Linked DNA regions of Homo sapiens: region 2 is linked to region 1. Evidence: promoter capture Hi-C in 16 types of primary human blood cells and fetal thymus (Javierre and others, 2016). All regions are on one chromosome and are shown on one strand. The core of a region is centred on a gene start or on the middle of the fragment in contact, and the rest is flanking DNA. Distances in the headings are between cores, read along the strand shown.

The links. Contacts are between HindIII fragments. The CHiCAGO score rates a contact against its expected background, and 5 or more counts as called.
Region 2: a contact is called between a fragment that was not itself captured here and the fragment with the promoter of PCCA-AS1 in region 1, in 2 of 17 cell types (M2 macrophages and M0 macrophages). The highest score is 6.0, in M2 macrophages.

Annotation. Positions count from the first base shown.
Region 1 is chr13:100,477,427-100,483,735 of GRCh38, reverse strand. It overlaps PCCA-AS1 (PCCA antisense RNA 1), which reads left to right and starts at 2,721. Exons shown (of 5, transcript NR_047686.1): 1 at 2,721-2,756. The region is part of intron 21 of PCCA (propionyl-CoA carboxylase subunit alpha); the gene reads right to left. LOC107984574 (a long non-coding RNA gene) reads left to right here and starts at 2,529. Exons shown (of 3, transcript XR_007063850.1): 1 at 2,529-2,616; 2 at 3,306-3,475; 3 at 3,973-4,189. The HindIII fragment of the contact is 6,979 bases long and covers 418-6,309 here.
Region 2 is chr13:100,233,914-100,240,222 of GRCh38, reverse strand. It overlaps PCCA (propionyl-CoA carboxylase subunit alpha), which reads right to left. Exons shown (of 24, transcript NM_000282.4): 8 at 4,345-4,381. Among named protein-coding and RNA genes, the nearest start is that of PCCA, 150 kb to the right of the region's middle. The HindIII fragment of the contact is 3,132 bases long and covers 1,588-4,719 here.

The DNA.
Region 1 (6,309 bases), core at 1,472-3,971:
AAAATGGGGCTTCCATTTTTATTTAAAAGCAAAATTTACCGATTGCATTTCTCACTTCCTAACTCTAGACTGATACGCCTTATTTCAGCTAGCACTTTCTATTTCTCAATAAAGTACCCCAGATATACCAGTAAGAGCCTCATCTTAAAGAAATGTCCAAAAGAAGACCAAGAGGGCGGTATAGTTTATTCTTCTGAACCAATTATTAACTTAAGAGTCTTTGCCTGGGGAAGGAGTACTGAGCAGCAGAACTCCCAATGAGCCAGCACAAACGGTCACATGCTGAAGATGCAATGGAAGAATCCTGGCCCATTGGCCAAAAGGTGTCTCCGGCTAAGTGTGTGCTGAGAGGAGAAAAGGACAGCGCCGGACACATGGCTGGGTCTGTTTCAACGTGGCTGAGAACAGTGGGAAGCTTTTTAAAATCTGGGAATACATCAAAGGGCTAATGCAGATTAAGCCCAGCTCCTTTTTTTTTTTTCCCTGAAAGGCTCACTTTTGTTCCTAATAGAAAGACTTAGATGGTATTTCTTCAGATCATAAAGCAAGTTGTACTTTTAATGATGGAATAAAAATTATAAAAGTAAAACGTGGCTTTTCCTCCCCATTCTTTTTTTCCTTTTTTAAGTGATGAATTCAGGAAAAGACCAGTCTAGGCCAAATTTATCTCTTGTTAACCTTCAGGGATATGGAGTACGCCAAGTATGTTAGTACAAAGTCAAATTTGGATGATGTAGTCATTTTTTGCTAATTCCATTATTAGAAACATTAGATAATATGGTAGTATCTAAGGAATACAGCTTTAAAAATAGTATGCACCTTCACTATCAAGACTGTAAGGCAAAATCAACTTGTGCCCACGACTGAACTTTTGAAATAGAAAATTTTGTTATATCCATGTTAGCCAGGCTGGTCTTGAACTCCTGACCTCAAATGATCCGCCCGCCCCGACCTCCCAAAGTGCTGGGATTACAGGCGTGAGCCACTGCACCCGTGGCATGCACCTGTAATCCCAGCAACTCGGGAGGCTGAGGCAGGAGAATCGCTTGAACCCAGGAGGTGGAGGTTTCAGTGAGCTGAGACTGCACCATTGCATTTCAGCTTGGGGAACGAGCGAACGCTCTCTCAAAACAAACAAACAAAAAACCAAAACAAAAAACCTTGTTATGTCAATAAGAGTATTTCTAAGTGGGTTAGCAGCTCCCTGACAGGCTACCTCTCCAGCCTTCCCAGGCCCACCCATCCTTGGTTCCCTCTCTAGCCTCACAAGACAGCGCTCTTCTCATCACACTCAGGCATTTCACTGGAGCCCCTGATCTCGCTTTGCCCTCCTCTCTTGGAGCCTGCCTCATCAACTGTCCTCTCTTCCCTCTCTATTGGCCCCTTCTCTTCATCCTGAAAGTCAACCTGAGTCATTCCAATCAACAAATTCTCTCTCGACTCTGCATCCCTCCTGGCTACTGCCTTCTGACCTGACCCATGTTCTCCACACAGTCCTCTGCTCTAGCTGCTGCAACCACACTTGCACTCACGACCAAACCAGCCCTACGTGGCTATCGCCACCACTGTTCTTCCTAACTGACAAGCTGTCTCAGGTACCCACAGGTTAGATATTTCAGGGGAAATGACTGTTACAGAAATGTTCATGTTAGAATGAAGAAACAGATCAATACACATCAATCATATTAAAAAGGTGCTTCTAAGACAAAGCATATATTATTTTTATTATTCATATTCAATATTTTAGGAATTAAAGCAACGATGTTTCTGCAAATTTATGGTTTTGAATTGATGGTACGTTGTAATAATGCATAGATAGGGTCTGCCTGAGCTTTCACCCCAGGAACTGTAAACTTTATATTACAGTAGTCCCCCCTTATCCAAGGTTTTAGCTTTCCAAGGTTTCATTTACCTGTGGTCAACCATGGTCCAGAAACATTATATGGAAAATTCCAGAAATAAACAATGTATAAGTTTTAAATTGTGAGTCATTCTGAGTAGTGTGAGGAGATCTTGTGCTGTCCTGCTCCATCCTGCCTGGGTCATAAACCCTCTCTCTCGGGGTCCAGCATCTCCACGCTGTAGACACCCCCACCACCAACCAGTCACTTAGTGGCCATCTCAGTTACCAGATCTACTGTCAGGGGGTCTCAGTGCTTAGGTTCCTTTTTTATTTTTGAGACAGAGGCTGGCTCTGTCGCCCAGGCTGGAGTGCAGTGGCATGATCTTGGCTCGCTGTAACCTCCACCTCCTGGGCTTAAGCCATGCTCCCACCTCAGCCTGCCGAGTAGCTGGGACTACAGGTATGTGCCACCGTGACCGGTGAATTTTTGTGTTTTTTGTAGAGGCAGAGTTTTGCCATGTTGCCCAGGCTAGTCTCAAACTCCCGAGCTCAAGTGATCCACCTGCCTTGGACTCCCAAAATGCTGGGATTACAGGTGTGAGCCACTGTGCCTGGCAGGAACTATTATTTGACTTCACAATGGCCTCAAAGTTCCAAGAGTATGATGCTGGCAATCTGGATATGCCAAAAACCAGCCATGAAGTCCTTCCTTTAGTTAAAAGGTGAAAGTTCTCAAGAAAAAAAAAAGTATGCTGAGATTGCTAAGATCTACAGTAAGAATCAATCTTCTATCCATGAAATTGTGAAAAAGGACAAAGAAATTTGTGCTAGTTTTGCTGCTGTACCTAAAACTACAAAAGTTACAGCCACAGTGTGGGCTAAGTGCCGAGCTGAAATGGAAAAGGCATTAAAGGCAAGCGTATACAGGGTTCGGTCCCATCCGCAGTCTTAGGCATCCCCTGGGGATTTTGACATGGATCCCCCGTGGAGAAGGGGGGCTACTGTACAGTACACTTCCCTTCAGCAAGCCGCATATTCAAGTTCTCTATTTCAGATTCCCCTTCGTGACTGTCATGCAGGAAGCAAAGAAAACCCATTGTGTCCAAGGAAATTTTTACTTTCTCTAGGGATTCAGAAACCTGACTTTCTGATACTCAGAAACTCAGTGCGCATGGGTGAGAAGGCTCGGTAGGGAAGAGGTGCTTTGTAGCTCAGGATCTGCTGGAGCTGAGGGCGTTTTTTGGTTTAATCTAGTTTCACTGTGTGTTTCATGGAGAGGTTCCTCTAGGAACAAAAGGTTCTATGGAAGTCACGTCCTTTATCCCTCTTAGCCATCCCTGTGTCTGCCTTAGCCAACCTCCCATTTGTAAAAAGAAAGCAGAGACCAGGCTATGGCTGAATAGTTTCAGACAGCCCCTATACCACTGTCAGCCTTTGCAAAGTGTAATGCTTTAATTACAAGGGTCACACAAGGTCTTAAGACACAGGAGTCCCTGTGTCTGAACGTAATCACTGTGTATGCGTCTCAGCCTAATGAGGAGGTGACTATCATGAAGGTCTGGTGGTGAAGATCTTGCAAGAAGGTGCCTTGTTTGAGATCTTTCAAGGAAACACAGTACTCAATAAATGTGGGTGAGTAGAAATTACAATTTAGTTGGGTTAATTTTTGGTAGTAATATGGAGCTTTGCAAAGAGAAAGGCATTTGCTGAAGACACTGGTAAAATATGTGCTGAAGCTCTGCCTCATCTAGTCTGGTTCAAAAGTCAAATATCAAAGAGTCAAGAGACCCTCCTATTCAGAAGAAAGCCCTGACTTGTTAATTTATTAGAAGCAAGAGTAAATGCTCCATAGGTTTTTCATTAAATAAAATTAGATCTAGTCCCAGGGCTTTTCTGTAATGGGTGCTCCTGAGTCAGGAATCAAGACCCATGAAGTAAGAAAAGAACAGGTAGGCAAGGGGGTACCTTCTCCTCTAACAAAAGTGGCCTATCAGATGGTCAGGGAGTCTCTATCAGTGGAGCCAAACCAGCTCCACTGACACAGTTAAAGACCCTTGCCATCAAGTGCAAAGGGAAGCAGTAGGACTTAGAGTAGGCCATTTCCTACTAAAAATGGAATCATTTTTCAGTTCGGTGTACAGTTGAGCCTTGAGCAACATGGATTTGAACTGCATGGGGCCACTTAAATGTGCATTTTCTTATGACTCCGCTGCTCTTGAGACAGCAAGATCAAGCCCCCTCCTCCTCAGCCAACTCAACGTGAAGACAATGAAGATCAAGATCTTTAAGATGATCCACTTCCACTTAATGAATAATAAATATATTTTGTCGTTATGATTTTCCTAACACTTTCTCTAGCTTACTTTATTGCAGGAATACAGTATATAATCATGTAACATACCAAATACGTGCTAAATGACTGTATGTTATTGGTAGGACTTCTGGTCAGCAGTAGGCTACTAGCAGTTACATTCTGGGAGAGTCAGAAGGTATCCGTAGATTTCTGACTGCACAGGGTTGATATCCCTAGCCCCCATATTGTTCAAGGGCCCACTGTATCTAGGACGTTGGTCAGCACACTTGTACCCCATCAGAATCTCTCAGGAGTCTTCCCTGTGCCACACTCAGTGATTCCCTCATTACAAGATTAGGCATCCCTGTGATGAATGGGCTTTCATTTTGGTTTTTATTTTTGAGTAACCAGCAGGAGTTTACCTGGGATTTGAGGAATGGATAACATGACCTTTTTTCCCAGTATATAAAGGGCTTTACCTAAAAGGGCCCAGCTATTTCTTTAATAAAAGTGAGTAGTGGGGCTATGACTGATGATTATCTGTCAGAGAATAAGTGGGATTATTGTGTTTTTAGGTAACGTCCCAGAAACTGTGGCTGTCCCTTACCCTGAGTGAGAAGGTTCTGGTGCATGCAGAGTCAAATTGTGTGTTTCTATCCCTCTGAACCCTGTGCAGAGAGAAAAGTTGGTCAGCTTCCATTTCTCTTGGCTTACCAGTTCTAGTACCAAGAATTCTGTTACTATAATATGAGGAGCCCCATTCTTTCCTTTTTATAGTAGAAAAAGCAATTCTACTAGGCTTATCCAGAAAGGCATGCTAGAAGCAACTCCCTTAAGCCAGCCTAGCAGGATTTCCAGGACGAGTGTTCATGCCCCAGGGCTGCTTAGGAGGTGAGGAGTCACTCCCAGGGTGACCGCTCCTGAGGCCGCTACAGTACGCCTGGCTGTGAAGAGGCAGGCGAGCCCTCCTGACCAGGCAATTTCCTCCTCATCATGGCGTCGAGGGTAACAGCAGCAGCTCCTGGAAGCTGTTGCCTCCTCCTATGAGAACTAAGTCAGAGGCTGAGAGTGTGCTGGGGGAGGGGACACAGGTCTTCCCACCTCTCAGTCGGGGACCTCCCCAGGTACCCAGGGAAGGGGTGGGGCCTCCCAGGCACCCGCCCAGCATCAAGAAGAGGGCTGAGAAGCTACAGTTCCAGAGTGGGAGGGAAAGGACACTCGCCAGAGCAGGCTGATCCCAGAGCCCCAAACTCCTCTGGTGTCCACTTGGGCCCAGGAAGGGAGACAGTTGTCAGGGCTCTGGTCTGACCCACTGACCACAGGCCACAATGGCGACAGACCGCTCCTCAGAGGATTCAAAACTTTTCTCTGGAGGAGACAAGACTAGGTTGTTGAAGACAGACAATTTCCTGGATCAAGGGGAAAAAAAATCCACAGAAAAATAAATATGTCCTCAGACCTACCATTCCTCTTCAGGGTAAAATGCAATGAATTGCGGGCTTCTGAGCTAACAAGGCCAAGTTAGGCCAAGGGCAGTTCACAGCTGATCATTTGCTAAGAAACAAAAGCCTAAAAGGCCCGATTAGCTCGAGCTCGCCACATCCAGCAACAACCTGGAGCGGCCGTCAGCGCAGGGCTGGGTACTGCCCGCGGCCACAGGCCTTGTCAGGTGCAGGTGGCCAGCTGTTCCTCATGCTCTGCAGACGGGACAAGAAGGGCTGCATTCAATCCAGGGAAGGTAGAGGCTTCTTTCTTTCCCAGGAGCCAAGGAGACAGTCACATGAAGAGGCTGAGAAATCAGGACTCAGGGGTGAAGGGTAACTCTGCCACTGCCCACAGGAGAACACACGCTTCATAGGGCTCACCCCATCATTTTATTTGTTTATAGTATTCCTGAGATTTCCCTACCGTATACTGTCCAAACTTGCTATTCAACAAGGATTACCACAGTTCTTTTTAGGAACAATCCTTGCTACAGTACTCTCTGGATGATTTAAACAATTATTTCTTAACAACTCTCTTCCCATCATCCACAGGGTCACTGCCTTGCCCCTAAAGCCGCCGTCTCTCACCTGCACTACCCGAATGAGCACTGAGAACTTAAAGCTGTATAATATCAAATCATTAACATGCAGAAAATAGTATAACTTTCAGTAGTATTTTCTTATTCACT
Region 2 (6,309 bases), core at 1,904-4,403, 240 kb after region 1:
TGATTTTTATCTAAGTTCAATGGAGTCATTACAGAATTTAAAGCAGAAATGGGCTGGGATGAGATGAAATATATCCTTGTTCTTTAAAGATTTTAAATATCTCACTGTCAGCTATGTGAAATGTTTAAGAAATGAAGTAAAGAAACTATTGCCACAGTCCCTGCAAAAGACAAAAGTAGTTTGGAGGAGAGTGGTAGTAATGAAGACAGTGTATATAAGATGAACTGACAATGCCTATTGATGTATTTACAACAGGATGATGAGGAAAAGAGGCATCCAGGAGAGACTCAGTTTTGGCCTGACTGAAAGGGGTGACATTTATTGAGATTTGGAAATTCTGGGAGAAGTAGGTTTGTAGTATGGTAGACCTGAGGATCAAAAAAAAAAGTTTTTATTTAAATTGGGCATGATTTGTGATTGTGAGAAAGACAAGCAAAGGAAAAGAATCTGAATAATCTGGAAGTTGTTAAAGGACAGGTTTTAGATTCACAATTTATTTTCCTTTCAAGAATCAATTTTGACTTGATTGTATTAAGGACCTTTGGCCCAGTAAAAAGATCAAACTTCAATGGAAATCAAGCTCACTGATTACTGTTGTCTATCATTGAGGTTAAAGACAAACTGAGGATCAATAGCTCTGTATCTCTCAACTTAGATAGGTCAAAGTAAAAAATCAGGAACAAGAATGAGAGAAACTAGGTAGTCCAAAAAACAAATACATACAAGTAACATATTAAGTCTTAACTGTCTCTCACCTCATCAAGGATAGGAGACTGTCTGCTTCTTTAATTCCATGTATAACACATTTGAGTACCTTACAGTATTTTACACAAAGTAGTCGCTCAAATTTTAGCTGCCATCCTCTAATCCCATTGGTTTAGACACAGTATAATAAAAAGTCTGTGGTCTTTGGAGTCAAATAAACCTAAATTTAAACCAGGGTCCACCACTCGATAGTTCTGTGACCTTGAGCAAATTACTTACCATTTCTAATCATTAGTTTCCTTAAATGTAAACAAAAATGATTAAACCCAAGAATTAGCATTAGAAACAACATTTCCAAAGTGCCTGGCCTTAGGAAGAAATGCTCCATAAACTGGAGTTACCATTATGTAAAAGGCACTTAATTCATCAATGCTCAATACAGTGAGTTTCCTACTTTGGCAGCATAGATTAATGTTTCCAGAAGAAAAGCAAAGACATGAGAGAGGAGGAAATCACATAAAACAGGATAAACTTCATTTTCATCACATAACACAGAAAGAATTAAGAGAGAACTCTATGAATAGGTATAACACATGGACAATCAACAACTTACAAATGGATAGGTTCAAAGGTTTGATTATAAATCAGTTGTTTAGAACTAGGAACACATTTTCACATGGAATCATAATCATAGTTAAAATGTGATATATCTCAATAAAATCAGTAGTAAAAAACTTACGAAATATCAAACAACACAGAAAGCCAACAGACTTTAATAAAACATAATTTAATTTACTTTAGAAAGTAGCACTTCAAGGAAAAGATTTTATGCGAGGCTTCTGAGGTGATTCAGAAGAGATTTTCAGAGAAATTCTAAAAGCTTTGTAAGAGCTGATGACCCTAGTTCTTTATGGTTTATTTTACCTCAAATTTTATGGTTTCCCTTTCTTTCAGTATAAGCAAAACACCAGTACTCTTATACTTAATAGCCATGATTGCTATCATTTATTTCACAAGCAAGAGAGAGTAATTGGGGAAGAATTAGAAGAAGGACAGGAAAGAGAAAGGAGTCATAAAGGATGTGCCCAAGTACAAAGAAAAAAGACTTAGATTAGATTAGGTAACTTCAGTAGGAAAAAATAAAAAATGAAAAGGAGGTAAAGCACAGCATTAAAATATTGAGGGAGGAAAGCAAAGTGATGAGAACTAGTTAGACAGAGGCCCATCATGATGAGCTGGTTATCTTAAAGGTGACAGGTTATAACGAAAGTGGAAAATGGCCAGGTGCACTGGCTTATGCCTGTAATCCCGGCACTTTGGGAGGCTGAGGTGGGCAGATCACCTAAGGTCAGGAGTTCGAGACCAGCCTGGCCAGTATGGTGAAACCCCGTCTCTACTAAAAATACAAAAAAATTAGCTGGCATTGTGGTGTGTGCCTGCAATCCCAGCTACTCAGGAGGTGAAGGCAGGAGAATCACCTGAACCCGGGAGGCAGAAGTTGCAGTGAGCAGAGATCGCACCACTGCACTCCAACCTGGGCAACAAGAGTGAAAAGTCTGTCTCAAAAAAAAAAAAAAAGAAAGAAAGAAAGAAAGAAAGTGGAAGAAAAGGCATAAAGGAAGCAAAGCAATCCACGGCCTGCTATTTACACAAAGGGAATGCTCGCAAGTCCAAAATTCACCATTCAAAATGTGGCACTGCAGTGTAACTGTAAATTTTCTTCTAATCCCTTTATTTCCCTAAATTTCTCTAAATATTGTCCTTTATGTAGATACTGTAATAATAATAATAACAGTATTATTATATCCAATGAGGTTGATAATAATATCTAACCTAGAACTAGAAAAAGAGCTTTTTAAATGTAAAGATGTCTGACAGGATGGAATTAAACTATTTTAGAAAACTATCCTCAAAAGCCAGTAGGTATATTATATGCCTCTTAGGCAATGAGGAATACCAGTGATTTCAAACCATGAACAGAAACTTTTGATTTTTCTCCATAAAGAAACCACAGAATCAGTTCTATATAGTCCAGTTTATTTAGCAGTCGAGCAAATGTTCCTATGAAGTACTGATAGGCTTTTTGAAATGTTAATGATTCTGAAAAAAAAAATGAAGAGATGAGGTAGTCAGATAAAATAAGATTTTCTATGGTCTGGTCTTAAATCCAGGACCTATATCAATAAGATAGATTTTTGCAAAGCAAACAACAAAACACACTTAATGATGGGCAAAGCCCAAATAATTTAGACAGTACCAACTACAAACAAGGGTGCAATAAGCCAAACTGCTTTTCAGGTCACTAAAGACCTGCTAAGTTAGACTGTCCCATTTGCAAAGAACACGCTTACTAGTACAAGTGATCACTTCCAGACCAATAAGATATTTCTACATATCACAACTATATGAGCTTTGCCAAATCAAATGCTCTCTAGAGGCAGAAAATAGATCTAAATAATCTTAGTGAGAAAACAGGCCTACAGAAATGTTCGTGTGGCACGATGAGATGCTTGGACTGAGGCGTACAGGAATGCTGAGAAGACGCTGGGATCCCTACAAGCATTGCCTAATTTCTCTCATCTGTACAAATTTCTGTCAAATGTATACAATTACTGATTTGATTATTAAACCTGCAAAGTTATTTAACAATATTGTTAATCCATATAATAGCATGCCCTTACACATTTTCTCAATTAGCAGATACCAAAAATAGTTCTCATGACCGCCAAGAATATTTTTAAAATTAAAAAGTTGCGAGCCAGGGGCGGTGGCTCACGCCTGTAATCCCAGCACTTTGGGAGGCTGAGGCGGGTGGATCACCTGAGGTCAGGAGTTCGAGACCAGCCTGGCCAACATAGTGAAACTCCATCTCTACTAAAAATACAAAAAATTAGCTGGGCGTGATGGCAGGCACCTGTAATCCCAGCTACTAGGGAGGCTGAGGCAGGAGAATCGCTTGAACCTGGAAGGCAGAGGTTGCAGTGAGCGGAGATCGTGCCATTGCACTCCAGCCTGGGCAATGACAGCAAAACTCCATCTTAAAAAAAAAAAAGGAAAGAAAAGAAAAAGAAAAGAAATTAAAAAGTTGGGAAACACTGCCCAAATACAAGTACATGTAAAACAGCCATTAAAAACTCCTCCAGTCTACCTTTTATTCCAATTTAGATCATTCAGTTCTAATTTCCCACATCTATTTTATCTTTCCCATCTAACAAGATTAAGTTGATACCTAACATCTTAGCAAAAGGCAAAAACTTAAAGAACTATGTCACATATGGTATCTTCATTTTAATCCAAATGTTCTTAATTTTAACAAACCACATTCAACTATGTACATATAAATTGACATTAAACTTATATCCAATCTTTAGAATTCTTAAGACAATTCCTTCTTTGAATTAGCCTGTGATCTCATCTTACAAAAGAGTTATGTATAGTTAAGGTCAAATTACTCTTTACAGTCTCCTTTAATAATAGAATTTGGCAATTCAACTGATACATTCTTCCAGAGCAACAAGTAATCAAAATCTAAAACTATTAAAGTATTATTTGCTCTATGGGAATTACTTATTACCTGTTGACTCAACCGTATCTGCTGAAAGACACAGAAATCCTACCAAAGTTAATTTAAGGACTTACCAATTTCCCTTGCAATTCTGACAGCTTCTTCTGCATCCTGTAAAAGCAGGAAATGAGACTCAACATTAATCCCATGAGGCATTGCACAATGTCTTTAGGGCAGTCATATATTGCACTACTGTCTCCTCCGATTCATTTAATGTTCAATTTTACTACCTTCTAACCCTTTTCATTCAGAGAAATGTAAAATTAATACCATAAGTGGAATGTAAATTCTACCTCATCATTATTATATTAAGAAACTCAAAGCAGTTGAAATGAGCTGGCAGGAAGCACTACCAGAATTGCCAATGATTTGGTGCAGTTGCCGGAATTTAATGGCAGAATTTAGATGTTTACAATCAATACTGAATCATAAATCAGGTCATTAAAGCTTGTCCGCAGCCAGCTTGTTTCTGTCCAATATTATGTGTCATGTTTTCCTAGATTCTGTCAGCAGGGGGAGTTGATTCTCTATTGTTTGGGAGTAGTTGATCGATTTTGCAGAAATATGAAAGTTAATTTCCAGTACCTACAGGAATTACGAATTGTTCCAAAAAATCCTTTTGGTAATCTGCATTACCTTTTCTTTTCTATTGTTTCTTTCTTTTTTTTTTTTTTCAGGTACATATTTTATCTCTACAATTGTATCTTGTTACATAAATTAAAAAAAAACTTTAATTTCAACGAACCAACTACTGGAGGAAAAAACTCCAAAAAGCAAAAGAAAGAAAATACCTTCCTAAACAGTAAGGGGTAAAAGTTTATCCATTTAAGGATTAGTTATTGCTAAATATTAACCAATGCCACTTCTACCTCTAAGAAGATGAAAAGACAAAAACTTCCCTTGAATCTAAGTAATTTCACTGATCATTAACCCTCACCTAACACATCCAACACAGGACACTGCTGAATCATTTCCCCAAATAACAATAAAGATAATGTTGAAATCTAAGCCTCCTTCGTGTGTGTGGGTATGTGTGGGGTGTGTGTGTGTGTGTGTGTGTTTGTGTAATTCAGTGACACAAACTAAACTACCACAAAGACTGACAATATTGTTTTGAAACCACAGCTGGTAAGTGTGACTGAATTTTTAGAAAATGACTAAAATGCTGAAGTGAAGCCCAGTGTTTTTTAAGCTTTTAAGCTAATACGTTTAAAATGTAGAGCAACCATGTCAGAATCCTCCGAGAAGGGGGCGGGGGGGGATGTTTATAACTGGTTCACTTATGTCTAATAAAAAAAAATCTTCTTTAAAGTTCTTCAGTACCTAATAACATCCCCTGAATAAGGAGGTTGGCAGGGGAAGTTGTCAGAAAAATTTAATTTCCTTTCATTAGCCAGTCTGCTCCACAAATAGGTGCTTGTTAAGTTCAAAGGGGTCCTGAAAGCGACATCAGTTTTAAGTTGTTTTTTTTTTTTTTTACTCCAAGCAGTCACATCTGCTAATGAGATTTTCCAAATAACAATTGTTTTCAAGTCAGAGATAAATCTATATCTCCCACCCTATGCCTTCCAAAATCAAGGTTTACTGCTTTATTACACGTTGCTGTTTTCGCTGACCCTACATTCTCCAAACTTTAGCTTAAAGGGATGAAAATCCATGAAAAGGGTCATTTAAGAATGTTAGTGGTTTCCACACATTGAGTTGGAAGGTTCTTTGTTCCAGCCAGTGACAGTTATTGGAGAATACTTCCCCTTAATAGCCTCTCTGTCAGGAAGTGTTAAACCTGCCAAATGCGAACAATTAGTGCCTCTTGAACAAAATACAGGAAGAGTGATGGCTGATGAAGACTGGATTATAATAAACCTAGAAGAAAACTTTTAACATTTCTTTCCAACGTGATGAGAGAAAATAAACTGCTATTGTAAAAAGTTCATCACTTGAGAGAACTAACAGGCAAGTTTTAAAAGGTAATTCAAAAATTCATTAGACATATTTTGTCACTTATTTGAATATACATGTTATAGCTGGGTGTGTATGGA